Regions from separate parts of the Homo sapiens genome. Here region 1 is linked to region 2. Evidence: promoter capture Hi-C in 16 types of primary human blood cells and fetal thymus (Javierre and others, 2016). All regions are on one chromosome and are shown on one strand. The core of a region is centred on a gene start or on the middle of the fragment in contact, and the rest is flanking DNA. Distances in the headings are between cores, read along the strand shown. Region 1 overlaps ASB11 (ankyrin repeat and SOCS box containing 11). Region 2 holds the start of EGFL6 (EGF like domain multiple 6).

Region 1 (6,572 bases), core at 304-2,803, 1.7 Mb before region 2:
AACTATGTAACAGGAGCCTCAAATACTTTATTTTGTATGCCACACAGTTTATACGGGAAAGCAAGTATTTAAAATGACTAAAACTATCTAAATTCACTTTTCTCACCAAAGAATTTCAAGTAGTCTTAGTAGGCATTGCTGAGGTTCTAGGCTTGAGTTGCATATTTTCAAACATTTGTCAAGTATGTCATGGTACTTAAAATGTCTTTATATGCAATGACTATATTTGAAGCTCATTGTGCTTTACATTACATTTAGTGTTGAATTGTGGCCATCTGTTTTGTTAAGGAGCCAGTGTCGACCATGGCCAGTGGCTGGACACCCCACTCCATGCTGCAGCGAGGCAGTCCAATGTGGAGGTCATCCACCTGCTAACCGACTATGGAGCTAACCTGAAGCGTAGAAATGCTCAGGGCAAAAGTGCGCTTGATCTGGCGGCTCCAAAAAGCAGCGTGGAGCAGGCACTCTTGCTCCGTGAAGGTAACCAAGGGCTGGGTATCCATTCCTCTTCCATAAGCACATTCTCTCCCCTTCCTGTCTCATCTGTAGCATTTTTTCCTTTTTCTTTTCTCTTTTTAATTGAAGGTGGCATTGTGGGAGGTGATAGGCCCTGCCGTCACTGACCTGTCTTCTGGGATTTTATATGCTGTGTATATTCACTAACAACCAAAGGGCATTTACCTATAACCAGAGTGTTGCTTTGTATTTTATATAACAAGAAAATAACCAGAAAACCGGCTGGGCGTGGTGGCTCACGCCTGTAATCCCAGCACTTTGGGAGGCTGAGGCGGGTGGATCACAAGGTCAGGAGTTTGAGACCAGCCTGGCCAGCATGGTGAAATCCTGTCTCTACTAAAAATACAGAAATTAGCCAGATGTGGTGGCTGGCGCCTGTAGTTCCAGCTACTTGGGAGGCTGAGGCAGGAGAATCGCTTGAACCTGGGAGGCGGAGGTTGCGATGAGCAGAGATCACACCACTGCATTCCAGCCTGGGTGACAGAGCGAGACTCCGTCTCAAAAAAAAGAAAACCAGAAAACCTTGTTTATACCCCGAAAATCTTGAATTTCCATTTCTGTCCTGGCATAAGCGTATGATTGAGCAAACCAAAACTCTGCTTTGTAATATTGGGAGACAATCTGATGGCAAATTCAAAAGACTTGAGTCAGAGTCTGTAGGGGAGGACACAGAGTATTTCAGAAATCCGACTAAATGGTGAGGTTGTTTGCCTGTTCTCCAGATCAGGGAGTAGGTGGGTCTGCATTCTTCATTGCTTCATTCCCGTTTCCACCATGAGCATTAAGAGCAACTACTGATGCCAGAAGAGGTAAGGCGAGCATCTGAAATTCAGAAGAGAACCAATTCAGAAGAGAACCTCTTATGTCTATACAGTAAGAAAATATTTTCGGAGCCTATATTGATTATTTGTGTGCCTGAAGAATATTAAAGATAATTATAATTATTCAGCTCTACGTATGCCAGGCACTGGGCTAAATTTGAAACATAGATCAAGCTCACTGAATTTTTAAAACTTTAGAGCAGTGGGAACTTTATATGGTAGTAGCTGGTTGCTATGCCAGGTACAAATGGGAAAAGAAAAGCATTGACAAGGTCACACAGCTAGCTACATAATAGAATTAGGTAGGATTCTGAGCCATCTGACCCCAGAGTGTGCACTTTTTTTTTTTTTTTTTTTTTTGAGATGGAGTCTCACTCTGTCTCCAGGCTGGAGTGCAGTGGTGCGATCTCGGCTCACTGCAACCTCTGCCTCCCGGGTTCAAGCGATTTTTCTGCCTCAGCCTCCTGAGTAGCTGGGACTACAGGCGTGCACCACCACACCCAGCTAATTTTTGTATTTTTAGTAGAGACGGGGTTTCACCATGTTAGCCAGGATGGTCTCGATCTCTTGACATTGTGATCCGCCCGCCTCAGCCTTCCAAAGTGCTGGGATTACAGGTGTGAGCCACTGCACCTGGCCATCAGAATGTGCACTCTTAATGTCATAAGGCCCCAACCCTGAATCTTTTGAAACATTCAGTGAGGAGGGTCTTATTTCACTCACCAGTTCCATTTTGTGAAACCACTACATCATATATACCTTCCAAGTAGAATGCTTGGTTTTAACCATTTTATGAATAGTCTTTCTAAATCAGTGCTTCTTAAGATTTAACATGCATATCAGTTCACTTGAGGATTTCCTTAAAATACAGATTCTCATTCAGGAGGTCTAGGATGGGACCTGTGACTCTGCATGTCTAGCAGGCTCCCACGTGATGTTGATGGTGCTGGTCTGAGGACCACACTTTGCGTACCACTGGTCTAGATTATTATTATTGTTATTATTATTATTATTATTTTAGACGGAGTTTTGCTCTTGTTGCCCAGGCTGGAGTGCAGTGGCGTGATCTCGGCTCACTGCAACCTCCGCCTCCCGGGTTCAAGCAATTCTCCTGCTTCAGCCTCCTGAGTAGCTGCGATTACAGGCGCGTGCCACCACGCCCAGCTAATTTTTTGTATTTTTAGTAGAGATGGGGTTTCATCATGTTGGCTAGGCTGGTCTCGAACTCCTGACCTCAGGTGATCCACCCGCCTCAGCCTCCCAAAGTGCAGGGATTTCAGGCGTGAGCCACCGCGCCTGGCCAGGATTATTTTCAATAGTCTAGATCATTAATCATTGTTCTTTTATTTGAATCTTCACCAGAAGAATTATGATCTTCCTCAGCAGATCCGAGCTTGGAAATACCAGCTACTTTCCAACTGTTAGCAGAGACTATAGTTTATAGAAGTTTTCACATTTCCTATTTTCTTCCATCAAAAATGTTTCTAGGACTAGGATTTGTAGACCTGGATATCCTGGACAGGGCCTAGCTCCTCTGTCCTTTGTCTTCATAAATATAGCCACTTGCTCTAGAAAGATTAATACTGGCTGGGCGCGGTGGCTCACACCTGTAATCCCAGCACTTTGGGAGGCCCAGGCGGGTAGACCATGAGGTCAGGAGTTCAAGACCAGCCTGGCTAAGATGGTGAAACCCCGTCTCTACTAAAAATACAAAAATTAGCTGGGTTTGGTGGCACCCGCCTGTAATCCCACCTACCCGGGAGGCTGAGGCAGAGAACTGCCTAAACCCGGGAGGCAGAGGTTGGAGTGAGCTGAGATTGAACCACTGCATTTCAGCCTGGGCGACCGAGTGAGATTCTGTCAAAAAAAAAAAAAAAAAAAAAGAAAGATTAAATACCAACTACATCAGAGTTCACTCTCCTGTCAGTGTCTCTGGGCACTGGACAATTTGTCTACATTACCATTTTGCAGAGGAGGTTAAGTAGGACAACAGGTAAAGAAGTTTTCTATTCTTGCTTCCCAAGATTTTAACTAAGATCGATTGTTTGGTCCTCCAGGTAGCTTTCTATCTCATGGATGCTCCTTGGCAATGTGAAGCCAAATGTTAACCTGGCTATTCGCATATGCAGTCCATCATTTTTCATGGGGTGTGAGATGCTGTTACAGTGGATTTTTTTGAAAAGGAAAACTTTGTGTAGACCAGTAATTAGGTTTTCTTGAAGAGATCTTTACTGATAACAGTCAGGTTAGGAAATAATGACTGTGCAACTAGTATTGCAGCCAAAAGCTCATTCATCCTATTCAACCATATTCTGGACTCTCATCAGCTGATTTTCCTTAAGGATTCAGAGCCATTCAAAGCCATGGGCATGATGATTCTGTGAGACTCCTTGAGAGTCCATGAGACTCAGTTTCAGGGAACAATAGGGTCTGACTTGAGTCCTTCTTGCAGATCTCTATTGAGCTGGAATCCTTGCAAGAATAAAGGGCCTCTTCAGATTTAAGTTGAGACCCAGCCAGCACCACCTCATGGGCAGCTAGAGCCGGTAGGTCCAGGAGTACTTTGAGGGCTGAATATCTGGCCCCTGGCACATCTCCTAACACTGCCTCTGTCACCACGCAGGTGGAACTTCCCGCTGACACCCTTTCCGTATTGTCCCTCTGTTCTGTGGCTGTGTCTTGGAGTCCTGCGTGTTCAGTCCTTCCATTTGCATTTTCTCCTTGGCCAGTGTATTACTTTCTTTCTTTCTTTCTTTTTTTTTTTTTTTTTTTGAGGCGGAGTCTCGCTCTGTCGCCCAGGCTGGAGTGCAGTGGCCCGATCTCGGCTCACTGCAAGCTCCGCCTCCCGGGTTCACGCCATTCTCCTGCCTCAGCCTCCCGAGTAGCTGGGACTATAGGCACCCGCCACCACACCCGGCTAATTTTTTGTATTTTTAGTGGACACGGGGTTTCACCGTGTTAGCCAGGATGGTCTCCATCTCCTGACCTCGTGATCCGCCCACCTTGGCCTCCCAAAGTGCTGGGATTACAGGCGTGAGCCACCGTGCCTGGCCCCGTGTATCACTTTCATTGGCACATTCAATACATGAATGAGATGCATTCCCTTTAGACCCCACACCTCATTCCTAACTTGCCTCTGGTTAGCTTCATTCTTCAACATTGGTAATCCAAGTACCATTGGAAGATTAACTTAAAGAAATGCATCCCTTCCAGAGGGGCAAATCAGGATCTGCTGTCTGTATTTAGTGTCCGCTACCTCATTCTATAGTTCCTATACAGATCCAGCTTCTCTTCTGCTTTTAGAAAATTTCCGCCTCTTCCAGTTCTCTGATTTCCCCCTTCCACCCCACCTCCCACCACTATGAAGTTAACACCATTTTTATTTCTCTCTCAGGCCCACCTGCTCTTTCCCAGCTCTGCCGCCTGTGTGTCCGGAAGTGTCTCGGTCGAGCATGTCATCAAGCCATCCACAAGCTACATCTGCCAGAGCCACTCGAACGATTCCTCCTATACCAATAGTCCTAAGTGTTCCTGGGAAGATACTTGGAATGACACAGATTGTTGTCTGCTGTACCTAGAGTACCTAATGTAGAAGCTCAACAGCTTAGACTCCTAGTATCTTTAAATGAGCTCAGTCGAAGTAAATCCCCCATGAGCTAGAACACTTGAGGAGTGGAAACTCCTGGTTAGTTTAATGTTCTCATTAACCAAGGGGCAAGTAGAAACCATTTAGCTTTTAGCTCTTGTTGTTAAGAAACTTAAAAGAACTGTGAAGTAGAGTGAAAACAATAGGCTGTTTTTTGATGATTCGGGATCTTCTTGTACCTAAAAGTCAACATTCTGAATATTGTATAGACACATATAAATTCAGGTGGATAAGATTATAACAAATGTTAGGTATTCCAAGATATGTTCTTGATTTAGTTCCTTCCTTCAGCCCTTCCCCACTTTTTTTCTTTCTTTCCTTGAATAAATCTGGTATAATTTTGATTTTTTGTATATATATACGTATATATATATACATACATATACGTATATATATATACGTATATATATACACACACACACATGCACTCATATATTTAATGTTTTCAAAGTCCTTAATATATATAGTTCATATATGTTTTCAAAGTCCTTAATATATGTATAAAGCTTATATATATATGTTTTCAAAGTTCTTTATATATAAAGTTATATATATTTATATAGACTTTATATATATATACATATATAAAGTTAAGGACTTCAGAAACATTGTAGTTAACTGAGGCTTCCAGTTACTGCGGTCCTGGTTGATAAGAGAGACTTTGGAAGAGATCAGTGCACCCAGAGGTTGGCATCTATTGCTTATTGCTTCTGATATTAAATGCTGTTATTTGAAGTAAGCAGTTCTAGGATTGAGAACACTGGGTGTCCCCAACAACCTGAACCCACAGGCATTGTCTGAGGCATGTTGCAACCCAAGCACTGGCTTATTTTCAAAGTCAAGATGCTCAGGGTTTTTGAAATAATTACATACTGATGCCAGCCACCAAAGTGGGCTCAATGCTGGGTCAATATTTTTTTCTGTGGATAGGGGCCCAAAATAAGCACAAAGGTATATAAAAAGAGGCTTCTCCTTTTCTGTCTTCTCCTTCTTCTCATTTCTCTCTCCTTCTGTCACCCCTCCTCTTCCTCTATTCTTTCTCTTTTTTGTGAATTTAGAACATGGGAACTGGATAGACTTTTAATTATTGTAAGTATTACTGTCATGGTTCAGTATTCAGTTCTAAAATGAAAATTCCCTCTCAGATCATCCTAAGACTCATTTCACACATGTTTTTTTTTCCCCCAATTTTTCTAGACCTTTGGCTCTCAACTGGAGACAATTTTGCCCCACTCCCACTGAGACATTTGTCAATGTCTGCAGACATGTTTAGTTGCAACAACTGGGGGAGAATTGCTACTATCATCTAGACGGTGGAGATCAGGGATGCAGCTAATCACCCTACAGTGCACAGGAGCCAGCAACAAAGAATTATCAGATCTGGCCGGGCATGGTGGCTCACGCCTGTAATCCCAGCATTTTGGGAGGCCGAGGCAGGCAGATCGCACTGTCAGGAGTTCGAGAACCGCCTGGCCACTATGGTGAAACCCTGTCTCTACTAAAAATACAAAAGTTAGCCAGGCGTGGTGGCAGGTGCCTATAGTCCCAGCTACTTGGGAGGCTGAGGCAGGAGAATCACTTGAACCCGG
Region 2 (6,376 bases), core at 2,572-5,071:
ATTATTATTTCCCAGAAACACACAGCTCTTTAGTTTTGGGTACATTCTCACAAATTACAGCTTGAAGAATAAAGAAATAAATGATATACCAATCATTCGAAAATCACCAAAATCATGTTTAAAGATAAAATCTAGCCCATAGAAATAAGAACAACAGACTTACAGCTCAGGCTTCCTGTGAAAGGCTGAATAACGCCCCCACCCCGCAGAGGTATACATCCTAATCCCCGGAACCTGTAAATGTTATCTTATATATCAAAAGGGACTTTCCAGATGTGATCGAGTGAGGGCTCTTGCAATGAGCAGATTATCCTGAATTATCCGAGTGGGCCTGATATAATCACAAGGGTTCTTCTTAGGAGGAAGAAAACAAGGAAGAATCAGAGAGAAGGCAAAGTGACAAAGGAAAAAGATATTGTGCCACAAGCTAAGGACTGTTGGCAGCCTCTAGAAGCTGGAAGATACAAGAAATGGAACCTCCCTGGAGCCTCCAGAAGAAACCAGTCCTGCTGATGCCTTAATCTTAGCCCCATAAGATTCATTATGGACTTCCGGTCTTCAGAACTGTAAGACAATAAACTTCTCTTGTTTTAAGCCATGGAATTTGTGGCCAATTTTTACAGTGGCACTTTGCTACCAGGGCTTTGAGAAAAATCAATTACCCACATAGCATGTGGTCTCTGTAAGTAAAGCCTCTCAGCAGGAACCTAGTCATTCCCTCCTCTCTCACATTATTTTTACTTGAATTCAGTAGAGAAAAAAATATAAAACAGAAATATGTTGTAAGGAAGGAGTTGCTCCAAACGTTAATCTCCAGAATAGCAAAGTTAATAATATATTTATCTTAGGTACTCAAGGCAAAAAGATCCCAGTGTTAGGACTTAGAACACTCGAGATGGAGTTCAGATCAATAAGTGTTCTAGACCAGCACTGTCCAATAGAAATAAATATCCATATATGCCATTTAAAATTTTCTAGTAGCCACATTTTTTAAATGCTAAAGAAACAGAAGCAATTAATCTTAATAACAATTTTATCTAATGCAGTATATCCACATTACCATTTCAACATGTAATCAATATCAAATGATTAGTGAGATAGTTCCTGTTCTTTTTTTTGAAAATTAGATGTGTATTTGATACTTTTTGCAGCACATCTCAACTTGGACTGGTCACATTTCAGGTATTCAATAGCCACTTGGGGCTCCTGGTTACCATCTTTGCTGTATTGGACAGGTCTAGGGTATCTAAATAGTTCCAATACCCAAAGGACATAAAAAATATAAGGCAAGCCAAATTCTGAAGCTTAAGGGCAGGTACATGCATGGAGCTAATGATTTATTCATTTGATGAGCGTTAATTGTGTACTATGCACTAAATACCATTTAAGAAGCACATAATTTTCTAGGTTATAAAATCATAGTGCAGTGTTTCAATTAAAAAGAACTGATGCTTATACTGGAAATCTCTATACAGCAGCCACAGTTTTTCCTATAAGTTGTGAAACCCCAGGAAATAACCAGTAGACACAGTTTTCTGCAATGGGTGCCTTGCCTTCTCTGTAACAGTGTCTTATCCATAATGTGGAATCTAGAGCTGATTAAACATGGGTCCTGGACATTCCTGAAGAGCTGACCACTTGACATTTCCAAGCACATTGAGCAAATAATAAACACACCAGCTCATAAACTTGATAATCGTCTAAAGAAACCATGGTTCACATCTTGAAAACTGCAGAATTGCAGAATCCTGACATGGATTCTCCAGTTTAATATGCTTTGGTTTATCCAGGGGCTTTTGGCTTTTAATTTAATTTGGTGGCACTTTGAAAGTGAAGCTCCTGGAGGTCAGTTTGCTGGCCGCTAAAGAACTATTAATCTCATCTCCAAACAGCATTTGGTCTTTTTTAAGTGGGCTTTCTAGCAACGCAAGAACCTCTAGCATTCAAGGAAAATGTGATTATGAGCAAATTGCATCTGCTTACATTTTTATCATGAAAAGGAAATTGAAACTTGCGATCATACATTCTAAGAACCTGGTTTGAGGTTTGTTCTGTTTTAACTTCGAAATCCTTTAATACCATGGCTAACTCTGATGAAATATTTTTTCCTGTAAGTCAAACAAAGATAGGCAAACCTTCGAGAAGCCTGTACCAAACCAAAGCTCTTATCCTACTCTCCTCAGGAATCATCACTGAAAAATTTCTATAGTTCAGCAGTCTCCGCTAGGAGCAATTGTGCCCTCCAGGGACCTTGGGCAATATCCCAAACCTTTTTTTTGTTGCCACAACTTGGTGGTGGTGGTGGTGGTGGGGGGTGGGGTGGGGTCAAGGTTGCTACTAGTATCTAGTGAGTAGAGGCCACAGGTGCTGCTAAACATCCTACAATGCACAGGGCAGCCCATCACCCCAACAAATAATTATCCAGCCCAGCCCGAAAGGTCAATAATGCTGCGGTGGAAAAACCATATTCTAGTGGACACCTAAGTAGAAAGCAAGACATCACAGTTAGAGAACCAGAAAACCTCTTCCGTTGCCGGAAGGCTGCCCTAGTGCCCTGGTGAAGAACAGACTTTGGGCCAGAATACCTAGGTTTGCACCCTGGCTCCATCTCTTACTGGCTATGCTTCCTCAGGCAAATTACTTTACCTCTCTGTGCCTCGTTTTTCTCTTCTACAACACGGAGATGATGATAATAGTACCTTACACACAGAGCCATTATGGCTTTGGGTAGGTTAATAGTCCTGAAGTGCTTAGAACAGTGCCAGGTCGACAGTCACCATGTAAGCGTGCATTTACTAAGCGTCTTTGCCGATCTCTGGAAAAAATATTTCAGGTCTCAGCTAAGCTTAAGGGCAGTAGGGAACGGCTTCAGAGTCTGCATTGCCATAGCAAGAATGAGAATGGTTGTCATCTGACAACCGTGTCCTTTCTTTCCAGTTCATCAACCCTAATCAGAGAGCAGTGAGGAGAGCAGCCCGGCTGGCTCAGCTCAAGAACAGTAAATGCTTTATCGTCCTCGGTTTCTTTCCCTCCTTCCCCAGCAAAACTAGCGACTGACAAGCACTTGGTGTCCTGTGAATAGAGTGGAAAACACAAAACCGCACAGACACAGAACCCACCCACCGACACGCATACCAACCCTCACACACCTGCCCCTACAGCAGGTCTGCAGACCATCAAGCCCGCACGCACCCACGGGTCTGCGTGCAGAGCCTCCCTCCTCCTGCAACCCTCCGGACGCAGCCAGGTGGGGCACAGCTGATGCAAAAGGAGCTAACTAGGTGCAAAGCCCCGCCACAGGAGAGCAGGGAGGAAAGCCCGTGGGCGCTCCCGGCCTGGTATCCAGGTTAAATCCCGTCGCAGCGCGCACAGGCACACGTGCACACTCACACCCATACACGCGGGGGTGCCTGCAAAGACATGGGGCCCCAAAGCGGGACCTCAGGCCGGGGGTGGGGGGAAGCCAATCGCCAGTCAGACACTCACCTGGCCGCGTTCCCGAAACCACCTGCCACCCAGGAGAGCAGCAGCGGGAGCGCAAGGCTCCAGGGCAGAGGCATTCTCGCACGGGTCCTCCTTCCTCCTCCTGAGCCCCCCTCGGGAGGGCGCCGGCCGGACCCCGTAGCAGCTAAGCCGCCGCCTCCTCTCTCCTCAGCCGCTCGGGTCCTCCGCTCCACTCGCAGTTACCGGGTGCTGTCCCTGCAGTCTGGGAGGGGAGGCCAGGCACCGCGGCAGGGGCGCTCGCGGCCTGGGGAGGGGCTGGGGGCGCCCTGGCAAGCCTGGCCGAGGCTCCTCTGCGGATGAAGCTGGACGGGGTGAGCGAGGGAGGGCGGGGCGGGCTGTGCACATCTGGCTGGGACCCGCCTCCAGCATGACCCGCGCATCCTCCGCGCTCTCTGTTCACCCAGAAACTTCCCCCAGATTCAGGTCACTTCACGCTTGTCAGAGTCACCATCTACTACCATGTATTTCAGGCATGGGGCAAATTTCGGTGATACCTGCACTCCAGGACTTAAGAATTTAGTTGAGAAGTCGAAGCAGGATGGAAGGATGCAGGTTCCTAAGACATGATCCCTCACTTCTCTTTGGGTTTTCACGTTCTCCCGGTTTTCTTCTACAAACTGCAAATAATGGGATGCTAGAGCTGGAAGGTCACTAAGTCCTGGGCAACCCTGTCATTTGGCAAGTAATCTCTCAGGCCCATTTGCAACAGCTTACTTACATGGGACCCCAGATGACATCCCAATATAGTAACCAGTGCAGAAATTCATGGCAGAAACATGAATGCTATATGAATTCAGATCCATTTGGGTACTGACACATTCTTTGTTCTGACAACGTGTTACATTAGAATGAATGACTGATCCCTTTCTGTCCTTCCTACGTCCACACCCTTTGGCTTCATGGTAGGCAGACACTATGACCCCACACCTTGGCTTTGGACTTGGCCGTGTGACTTGTTTGATCAATGGTTTAAGGGCAGAAAAGTTGCAGTGTTCCAGTTCCAAGCCTAGGTCTTAACACACCTGACCCTCTATCATGGACATGAGAAGACCTTGCACCACCTAGCCTGGTGGTCCAAGGCGAATGAGAAACAGGTGAAAAAGCTACCTCGTCAACCTGCAGATCTATAGCTTGAAGCAGAGCTACTCGGTGGAGCCTCATGTATATTACCCAATCCACACGTATATGAATGAGCTCAGCTAAGGTTGCCCGGCACCAGCCAATCTACTGAGGCTTATTGTGATAGTCCTCTGACACACAGTGGCCCAGTGTGAGAAATGAAATGAAAAAGGATACAGAGAAAGAGGAGGTTTATCTTGATTGGAAGCTTGATTCATGGTTTTATAGGCATATGCCTTAATTCTGGCCAATGAAATGTGAGAAGTAGGGAGGGGGGAGATTCTTGCTGCAGAATCTTGCTTTACATTGTAATAGATGTTCTTATTGGTGCAAGCCATGTTTAGTTGGGACTTCTATTTTACAGTTGAAGGTATCCCCATGGATTCAGTATTCTTGGGTAACTAGTTAGACCATTGAGCTGCTCGTAATTAATAGTGTCAGACCTTGTCCTAAACACATATGTTATCTGATTGAACATCCACAAGCCTGTGGATGGAGACCATTAGTTCCCCCATGTTTGAAGTGTCAAGAAACTGAGTCGGAGAGGTTAAGCAGCTTGCCCGACCAAGGTCATACAGCTAACAAGTATAGAACCAGAACTGGAAACCAGGGCTTTTCCCCATTGGGCTCTGCTGCTGTTATATCAATCTCTTTTCTCATCTTCTCACGTATTGGCAGATTCACATGTCAGATGAGTATCATGAATAAGGTAATAAGATGAGCTCTTCAAGGTTGTCATCAAAACACTTTGAACTCTTCATACCATAACTTATTTTATTTACTGAAATATTAAAACTAAAAGAAAATAATATAAGTTATGAACTCTATACCTGTGAGGATCTTAAAGAAAATGGAATATAAAATTTGTCTTGTTGTGGGTTTCCCCACAAGCAGGCCCTGAGGCAAGGATTCAAGTAAAAGTAGTTTATTCTGGAGGTACAGAGAACATGGGTAGGTGAGTGAGGAAATGAGTTGGGAAAGAAGACAATATCAGGCATATATTAAGTTATCATTGTGAGCAACTGGAGGTTCATGCTGCTGGGGATCTCCCAGAGCCAGCATAGAACAAGCATCTCCAAATGATTTTACCTAAAAGGCAAGGGAACTGGGTATTTATACACCACTTCCATTCACTCATTACCTGAAAGCTTCAACTGTGGTACTGATCCTAGAACTCAGTCTTCTGTGCTGAAGACAGAGTGGGGCTTACAGCCAAAGAAAGCCCTCAGGCAAATGGCTAGTGATACTGACTGTTGAAGGTCCTACTGAAATGTAAGGCCTGAGGGGATACGGGTAGTGGCATGACATTGGCAGCTACCTAATATCTGGAACTTGAATCGAATTAAAAATTATGGATTTTTGCCCATGCCACTTCTCCCTTAACATTTGGATACTAATCACTCCCTCCTCCAAATAAACCATTACTCAAAAAAGTCCTAACTAAACATGATTAGTCTAAAATGTGAGGGCTATCTGCCTTCTTAGTCCTGAGTTACAAAGTCAGAATAACATCTTGCATTGACATTATCTGTAACTTTCTAGCTTTAGTTTCAGTATTTTGATGCTTTGTGCTTTTTCTTTGTCAGCTGAATTCTCTTTTGTAGGCTTAAAGGAGGTAATGGACATTACAACAGGAAACTTTGGGGGAGGTCAAACACTCCCCAGCCAACCCACCTATTATTTCCTGGGGGAGCTGTGAACAAAAGAGCTGTCACATAATATGAGCAACAGAGAAGGAACCTGCAAATGATGT

Evidence for each region. Contacts are between HindIII fragments. The CHiCAGO score rates a contact against its expected background, and 5 or more counts as called.
Region 1: a fragment that was not itself captured here is called in contact with the fragment with the promoter of EGFL6 in region 2 in 1 of 17 cell types (neutrophils); the score reaches 8.9 in neutrophils.

The regions. Positions count from the first base shown.
Region 1 is chrX:15,281,789-15,288,360 of GRCh38, reverse strand. ASB11 (ankyrin repeat and SOCS box containing 11) reads left to right here. Exons shown (of 7, transcript NM_080873.3): 6 at 289-480; 7 at 4,732-6,572. The coding sequence ends at 4,856. Among named protein-coding and RNA genes, the nearest start is that of ASB9, 15 kb to the right of the region's middle. The HindIII fragment of the contact is 7,876 bases long and covers 1-5,491 here.
Region 2 is chrX:13,567,046-13,573,421 of GRCh38, reverse strand. EGFL6 (EGF like domain multiple 6) reads right to left here and starts at 3,821. Exons shown (of 12, transcript NM_015507.4): 1 at 3,487-3,821. The coding sequence starts at 3,560. The HindIII fragment of the contact is 1,986 bases long and covers 2,848-4,833 here.